Regions from separate parts of the Homo sapiens genome. Here region 2 is linked to region 1. Evidence: promoter capture Hi-C in human tissues and cell types (Jung and others, 2019). All regions are on one chromosome and are shown on one strand. Each heading gives the region's core, a stretch centred on a gene start or on the middle of the fragment in contact. The rest is flanking DNA. Distances are from core to core; before and after follow the strand shown. Region 1 holds the start of PRF1 (perforin 1). Region 2 overlaps SGPL1 (sphingosine-1-phosphate lyase 1).

Region 1 (4,061 bases), core at 1,356-3,855:
CAAAAAGTTAAACCTATAGTTACCACATGTCCCAGCAAGTCCACTCCTAGATATATACTCAGGAGAAATGGAAACATATGTCCACACAGTAACCTGTACACAAATGTTCATAACAGCATTATTCATAACAGCTAAAAAGTAGAAACAACCAATAAATCCATCAGTTATGAATGGGTAAACAAATTGTGATATGTCCATATAATATAATATTATTCAGCCATGAAATGGACTAAAGTACTGATACATGCTACAACATGGATGAACCTTGAAAGTATTATGTTAAATGAAACAAGCCAGACACAAAAGGCCACATATGCTATGATTCTTTTTATATGAATTGTCGAAAATGGGAAAATTAACAGAGAGATAAAGTAGATTAGCGTTATGAAGAAATGAGAAATGGCCAGGCACGGTGGCTCACGCCTGTAATCCCAGCACTTTGGGAGGCCAAGGTGGGCTGATCACTTGCAGATCAGGAGTTCAAGACCAGCCTGGCCATCATGGTGAAACCCCGTCTCTACTAAAAATACAAAAAAAAAAAAAAAAAATTAGCCAGGCGTGGTAGCGCATGCCTGTAGTCCCAGCTACTGGGGAGGCTGAGGTGGGAGAATCGCTTGAACCTGGGAGGCAGAGGTTGCAGTAAGCCGAGATCATGCCACTGCACTCCAGTCTGGGTGACAAATCAAGACTTCATCTCAAAAAAAAAAAAAAAAAGAAAAAGAAAAAGAAAAAGAAATGAGAAATGACCACCAGTGGGTATAGGTTTTATTTCTGGAAAGTGATGAAGATGTTCTAAAATTGACTGTAGCGGTGGCTGTACAACTCTGTGAACATACTAAAGCCATTGAATCATATACTTGAAATGGGTGAATTATATGGTATGTGAATTACATCTAAAGATTGTTGTTACTAAAGAAAACCATATACATGGTGTCTGGTGATTGAACAAATTACGCACTTGTTGAAACTTGTGTCTCTGAGGAAAAACTCTGCTTAATGCACATTCAAGTGTCAAGTTTCAGAAGGACAGCTGTCATCAGTTAAACGAGTCAAAAACAGTCATCACCCTCAATGTCATTTCGGCTCTTTAATGGATCCCCTAACAACCACTAGCATCTCTTGGGCATTAGCCACTTCATAAGCCACTTGAAACCTGCCAAGTGTACATTTTATCATTAGCTGGAAGGATGTGTAGAATTCCAAAGTCCTCTCTTTGATTTTATAGGTGAGGAAACTAACGCTCAGAAAGGGGGTTGATATCTATCGCCGTGAGGCATACGGTAAGTTTCTGGTGAAGCTGGGATCAGAACCTGTTTAGACTTTGCCTCTCTTTTCCCGCAGATACTTTGCAGGACTTCTATGTCCCTCAAACCGGCCTTCCTGTCATGGTCAGGAAAGAAACTCCTCACAGCCTCAGCATCCAAGTCAGGCCATGGGTGACAGCTGGAAAGTGATCAGGAGGCTGCAGTTTCTAGAAGAGGGTGGGGACACTGCGGAGAGAAGATGGGGCCAGATTCCGAGAAGACAGCATAAGCCCCTGTTCCTGTAAGAGCAGGGACGGAAGCAGGGACATAAACGCAAGGGATGAGCCCCAAAGTGTGACCCATGAGACATGATGTCACATGTGGTCTGGAGCCTGCGGCCACTTCTTCCCATCATATACACAGTTATGAGAACAAGTTGTGAGAACCACCTCCTCCCTTACCCAGCTGCCCCCACCCCAGAAGCCGTGTGATTTTGCCCCCCAGTGCCCTGTGAGTCACTCCACCCATGGAAACCTCACCCCACCCTGACCTCAAGCAAGGCAGAGTGCAGAAGACATGTCCTCCGGTGCTACCAGACCACTCTCACCAGCACCCACGACCTCAGCAGGGCTGGAGCCAGCGTGGAGGCCACTGGCTGTCCTCACAAAGCGAGGAGCAGGAGCCCCTGTTCGAGGAACATGCTTGGAGTTCGGAGCCTGGGCTAGGGTGGGATGTAGGTTGAGCAGGAAGTGGATGGCAAGATTAGAGCAACATCTCTCTTCTCCCACTCAGGGAGGAGGGAATGGCCACAGGCTCTGACACTCAAGAAGGGCCAGGCACAGTTCCAAGCACTTCACAACAACCCCTAGGGTCTACATGACCTACAATCCCAATTGTTCAGTGAAGAAACTGAGGCACAGTGAGGCTGAAGAACCCTACCAGTCCACACTGCTGGTGCATAACCGAGCTGCCCAAGCCCCGGCGGTCTGGCGTGTAGGCCCATGCTCTGAGCCGCCGCCTCTGCTTGCCTCTTACATCCCACACATGCGATGCTGTGCATCAGAAGCAAGGAGATGGCCCTGCTGGCCTGTTCATCAACACCAGGGCCGAGTCTCAAAGTCCTCAGCGCCCCGCCCTCCTCCGCCTGTGTGCCCTGAGTCCCCGAGCCCCAGCAGCTCTACTCGGCAGATGAGCCTCTGGCCCTGCTGCTCGCTTCCTGAGGGCTGTCAGTGGGGAGCCGGATGAGGGCTGAGGACAGGGTGGGTGCTTGTGGGAGGGGAGAGCACAAAGGACCTGTGACCACAGCTGGGGGCGGGGCAGGAAGTAGAAGTGATGTGAGTGGTGGCTGGTGCAAGGAGCCACAGTGGGCTGCCTGGGGGGCTGATGCCACCATTCCAGGAGCCTCGGTGAAGAGAGGATATCCATCTGTGTAGCCGCTTCTCTATACGGGATTCCAGGTAAGGAGAGAGCAGGGATTGGGGGGCCTGGGGCCCTGGGTGGAGGGGAAGAGGCTGATGGAGCAGGAAGTGCTGTGACCTATAAGACAAGACACCTGGGTCACAGACGGTGCCCATCACTAACTCGCTGGGCAGCCCTGTGTCCACCCTGGGCCTCAGTTTCCTCATGTATGAAATGAAGAGGTAGCGTGCAGTTTCTAAGGCCCTGCAAGTGCTGACATTAAAGCTTCTAAGAAAGCTGGAAAGAGGCTCCCTGGGACAGAATACCATGAGAGTCAGGATGAGGGCTGAGTTCACTGGATTAGGGTTATGACTGTGCCCGCCTCCTAGCTGGGATGAGCCCAGGGCCTTTGAAGATTCCCCTGGCCTCTTTGCCTCCCTGGGGCGAGCCACGCTGCCTGAAATTCCACCCTTCAAGTCACACCTTTGGGCAGGGCAGGAGGCTCCAGCTATAATGGGGGCTCTCCATAGCCCTCTTGTCTCAGAACCTGTGGTACCCAAGGGCAAAGGCCTTTGAAGAGCTCAGCTTGGATAAGGTTAGGCTTGGGTAAGGTTAGAGAAAGGAGGTTCCAGATCATAAACAGGCCCAGGCAAGGCCCCAGAAACACCTTAAAATTAGGAAGAACCTTCCAGACAATCATTGTCCATAGTAGGCAATAGGGGGGCCCCTGTCACTGCCGAAGGCCACAGAGCTTGGCAGGGAGTGGCAAAGAGGGGAGGGGCAGCAAGAAAGGATCTGAAGAGCAACCATCGAGGCCTCTCCCCACACAAAATCCAAGGGTGTGGTCAGGTCTGCCCCTTTTTTTTTTTTTTTTTGAGGCAGAGTCTTACTCTATCACCCAGGCGGGAGTGCAGTGGTACGATCTTGGCTCACTGCAACCTCCGCCTCCTGGGTTCAAGCGATTCTCCTGTCTCAGCCTCCCAAGTAGCTGGGATTACAGGCACCCGCCACCATGCCCAGCTAATTTTTGTATTTTTAGTAAAGAGGGGGTTTCACCACGTTGGCCAGGCTGGTCTCGAACTTCTGACCTCCAGTGATCCACCTGCCTCTGCCTCCCACAGTGTTCGGTTTACAGGTGTGAGCCACCACACCTGGCCAGGTCGGCAGATTTTATTCTAGAATTCGGGCTGATGTTATTCCATAAAGCTCAGAGGGAGAGCCCCAAAGGGAAAATGAGAAGAATAGGTGCAATATAGGACCTCATTTCTCTTCCAATTCTGTTAAGGGCTCAGTGGGAGGGAGAGAGGTTAGAGAGAGTGACAGAGACAAAGAAACAGAGTGAGAGTCAGGGTGGGCAAAGGGTGGCTTGTTCTGGGGCCAAAAATGACACTTCTTCAGAATGAAGGCTTCCTCAGGTCC
Region 2 (4,303 bases), core at 1,000-3,499, 260 kb before region 1:
TAGCCCCTCTGATAAACACATTTCTTTACCAGAGTTCAAACAAAAAGACGTAGGGGTCTTTTTATTCATCTTATTTCCCTCACTGGACTATAAATTCATGAAAGTAGGGACCAGTCTGTTCATGACAAATTCCTAGCACCTGACATAGTGGCTGACACCTAACAAACCCTCAATCCATTTTTTTTTTTTTTTTGAGACAGAGTCTCACTCTGTTGCCCAGGCTGGAGTGCCATGGCATGATCTCGGCTCACTGCAGCCTTTGCCTCCTGGTTCAAGCGATTCTCCTGCCATAGTTACCCGAGTAGCTCGGATTACAGGCGCCCACCACCATGCCCACCTAATTTTTGTATTTTTAGCAGAGACGGGGTTTCACCATGTTGGCCAGGCTGGTCTCAAGCTCCTGGCCTCAAGTGATCTGCCCACCTCAGCCTCCCAAAGAGCTGGGATTACAGGTGTGAGCCACTGCACCTGGCCTTCACATTTCTTAATGCCTGACTTGACTCTCAGTAAACCTTGACCAACACAGGCATGTCATAGCCACCTGGCTATTTTTTTAAAAAATAATATATGAGAATGAATCATTCCAAAACAAACAAAAAGCCACAATACTAAACTAGTTGGACAACTTCTTAGACTTACCATCTCTGAAGATTCATACAATCTTTGAAAGGTTTTTTCAATTTACAGGTGAGAAAACTGAGCCCTTGAGGAATTAAAGTGTTTCACTCAATGTCATACATTAGCATCTGTTGATAAGAAGTAAAACTTTCTACGTTTTCATATTTAGTGTAGCTTAATACAAGATGGAATCAGAGAAAGTGACCACTGAACTTTGCTAAAATAATATCCACACATAGAACAAAAATACCATTGGATACAAAATCCCTGTGGCCAGGAGTTATATGGAAGATGAACTGAGAAAAGTCATTTTTTGACTCAGGAAGTCTTTATGAAACATGTGACCATCACCAAAAAATAATGCACCCAACTTGGGCATGGGACACTTGTAGGTCACTACATTTCTACGCTGCAGAAGACAAAGTGCTTACAGCTGAGGTCAGCTCTGCAAATCAGCAGCATGTCCTGTGGTTTAGCATAAAACCTCAGAATGTCACAAGAGTCGTCAAGCCAGCTGTGAAGAGTCGGGGAGGGACCAGCAAAGTCCAAGTCACCAGTGCAACAATCTCTTCGTAAGGTCCAGTAATGACCTAAGCAATAATATTTCCAAATTCCTAGTCACCTGCTTCATGTGTCCTACTTTTAGTCCAATAACTAGTCAAAACATCATTGTTATGCAAACACCAGTGGACTTTTGACTGTAAAAGTAGGAATACCTAAATTCTACTTTTTTCTTTTTTGTTTTTTTTTGAGATGGGGTCTCAATCTTTCACCTAGACTGGAGTGCCATGGCGTGATCTCGGCTCACTGCAATCTCCACCTCCCAGGCCTAAGAGATCCTCCCACCTCATCCCCCAAAGTAGCTGGGACTACAGGCACACCCCACCATGCCTGGCTAACTTTTGTATTTTTTGTAGAGACAGGGTTTCACCTAGTTGCCCAGGCTGGTCTCGAATTCCTGGGCTCGAGCGATCCACTTGCCTCAGCCTCCCATGGTGCTGGGACTACAGGCGTGAGTCACTGTGCCTGGGCCTAAGTTCTACTTTTAATATGTATTTTTGATTCTGTGTTTTAAAATGCTATTACTCTCCCACTTCTTTCTACCTCCTATACCCAAAGAGAAACAGGAATTTTAACTGTGAAGTAAGAAAATGGAGGCCTCAGTAACTATTTGTTATGTCATTCAACTTCTTTCAACATGTATAAAAACTCTCACTTTAACATATGATATGTATTTCAGAAAACAAGAGAACAACATCTACTTGGAAAATTTTCTTTCAGATGCTGTTTGGATCTGATAACATTAGCACAAGCCAAGAAGAATGTTTCACATGGTAACCTAATTTCTTTTAGTATGTGAAGTTACCTCTATCATTGTAACTGAGACAAATAAAGTTAATAGAAGGAAAGATAGTTTAAGGCTGAAGAACAAAGAATGAGAGAGCTTACAACTCTTAACTCTTAGCTAGGAATAACCTAAAGACTGCCCAGCCATTTGGTTTTATCTTCTGGCTTCCCACCTCTGAACAGTGAACTCTTTCTTCACTAGAAGCAGCTCATCCAGAGAGAGAAGTAAGAAGCTAAGGGAGGAGTGGGGGAGACAGAGTGGGAGAGGGAAAAAGACAATACCAGTGCTGATTAGTTATTTTATAAAAGTCTAAATATTAGAAGAGCCTGGGAATCAGACTCTATCCTTCTTCTGATCCCTCACACGTGCTGAAGATCAAAATAATAGAGATATGGTTTAATTGCAGCAATGCAAAAAACCCCTAGGCCTGGACTTCAGGAGTAAGATGGGAAGAAAAAAAAAAAGGGTGAGTGCAGGGAGAGAAAAGAGTCAAAATCTACAATAACAACAACCAAACAAGGAAAGAGAGATAATCTAGGCAATAAACTTCAAATATTGGCAATCAAAAAAAAAAAAGAAACAGTGAAACAGCAGAGAGCAGAAGTAAGCAAAACACTAGTTTCTAATCAGCCCTTGAAACTGTACCGCAAAGTCAGCAAAATCCTGAGAATTTTCCTTTATACCCCCAAATCTGCAGAGGCAAGCTGAGGGGGTTTCCTTATTTTCTTCTTCTTCTCATGAGTGAGTGGTAAACATGGCTGCTAGGGAGAAATGAGCAAAATGAAGAGAGAACATCAGGATTGGCTCTTTAGAGTGAAGACTTCAGTGAATTAAATAATCAGAGCTCAAAGGGTATATTATCTCTTCCAAATAAGAGAGTGAACTCTGATAGGTAACTTTGAAGAGAATCTCAGAATAGACCTGGTTATTCTAATACAGATAGAACAAAGCTTTGGCTGAGCTTTGTCCCCAGCCAAATGGTCTCAGACAGGAAGCACCCACAGTGCATAAGAACAATGTCTGGAGAATGCCACCCCAAGATGAGAGAAAATGGCAAGGAAACTATGCAAACAAACTAAAAGGCAGGGGAAAAGGTAGTATGTAGCATGCAAAATAAAAACCCAACACAGAAGGAAACAAGCTAAGGGATGAAGGAAACCCCTTATAACTTTCTCACTATAGGAAAATATCATAAGAACATGAATTTAAGAAAACAAAGAGTTCAAAACCTAGACCATGAAACAAAAAGAATGAGCTACAGACCTAAAAAAACAAAGCCAGTAGCATCCATACAGAACTAACAAAGACATTAGGAACAGCAAGGAATAAAATAAACATTGCCAAGAATAAAAATGCTGACTTCAAGGAAAAGGTCTGAAATAAGTTTATTGAACCCAGATTTAAAAAAGACAGAGATTGAAAGATCAATGCCACTCCAAATGTGGAGAACTGTGTTCAATCTGGCCAGAGGCAACCAAAAGTCATACAGAGAATGACTGCGATGGTTGGAAGTCTGTGAAATCATATGAAAAGCGGAGTAACCCAGAAAAATGTGGGGCAGAGAAGATTCAGGGAGAAAGGGGCTTTCAAATAGACGAAGGTCTGTAACATGGAAAAAACAATTATGGAACTTCTATTTCTAGCAATATTATATACCTTGAGCAACCTTCCTAACTGAAATAACTAAAAAACTTGATAAAACATCAAAAAAAAAAAATTTAAACCTATCACTAACCTAACATAAAGAAACTTGCTAAACCCCCAAACAAAGCAAAATCAAGAATCCTGCAAGATAAGTGAGTGGCAAAACTAGCTTTCACCCTGAGGTGGCACCAGACCCTTCAGACTTCAAACTCCTACACTGACAGATGAGCAAAGGATGGACCAGAAGATACATTAGAGACTGCCCAAGATAAGGAGTCCAACAGGAGATGGCTGGAAAAAGACCACACTCTACAGTGTACAAGAAATAAATCCCACTACTGCAAAAGAGAAAAGAAAAACTGTTTTTCTCAACCCTGATGTTCAAGTAAAGAAAAATAGCAATCTTTCAAGAATGTGTAACAAGGAAGCCTTTATGTGAGTTTGTGGTCAGAATTCACACTACCTCTGTGGTACAAAATGACAAGCTAAGGATTTGACTTAATTTGGTTCCAGTGTGGTGGCAATCCCCAGCAACTCAAAAAGGTATGACAAATCTTCTCTGGAAGAAGAGAACTTCCAGACTTAACTTCAATCTAGGCCTCAAAGAATCCCTAGGTTCCCAGAAAAATGAGTGGCTCATAAAAAAATAAATAAATAAAATAAAATCACAAATATAAGGAAACAAGGAACCAT

Evidence for each region. The method cuts DNA at HindIII sites, captures the fragments that hold promoters and counts their contacts. A contact is called where the count stands out against the background at its distance.
Region 2: a contact is called between a fragment that was not itself captured here and the fragment with the promoter of PRF1 in region 1, in 4 of the 25 tissues and cell types used here (H1 embryonic stem cells, IMR-90 fibroblasts, hippocampus and 1 more).

What each region holds. Positions count from the first base shown.
Region 1 is chr10:70,601,285-70,605,345 of GRCh38, reverse strand. It overlaps PRF1 (perforin 1), which reads left to right and starts at 2,605. Exons shown (of 3, transcript NM_001083116.3): 1 at 2,605-2,701. The HindIII fragment of the contact is 18,183 bases long and covers 1-4,061 here.
Region 2 is chr10:70,863,452-70,867,754 of GRCh38, reverse strand. The region is part of intron 7 of SGPL1 (sphingosine-1-phosphate lyase 1); the gene reads right to left. Among named protein-coding and RNA genes, the nearest start is that of PCBD1, 23 kb to the left of the region's middle. The HindIII fragment of the contact is 9,380 bases long and covers 1-4,303 here.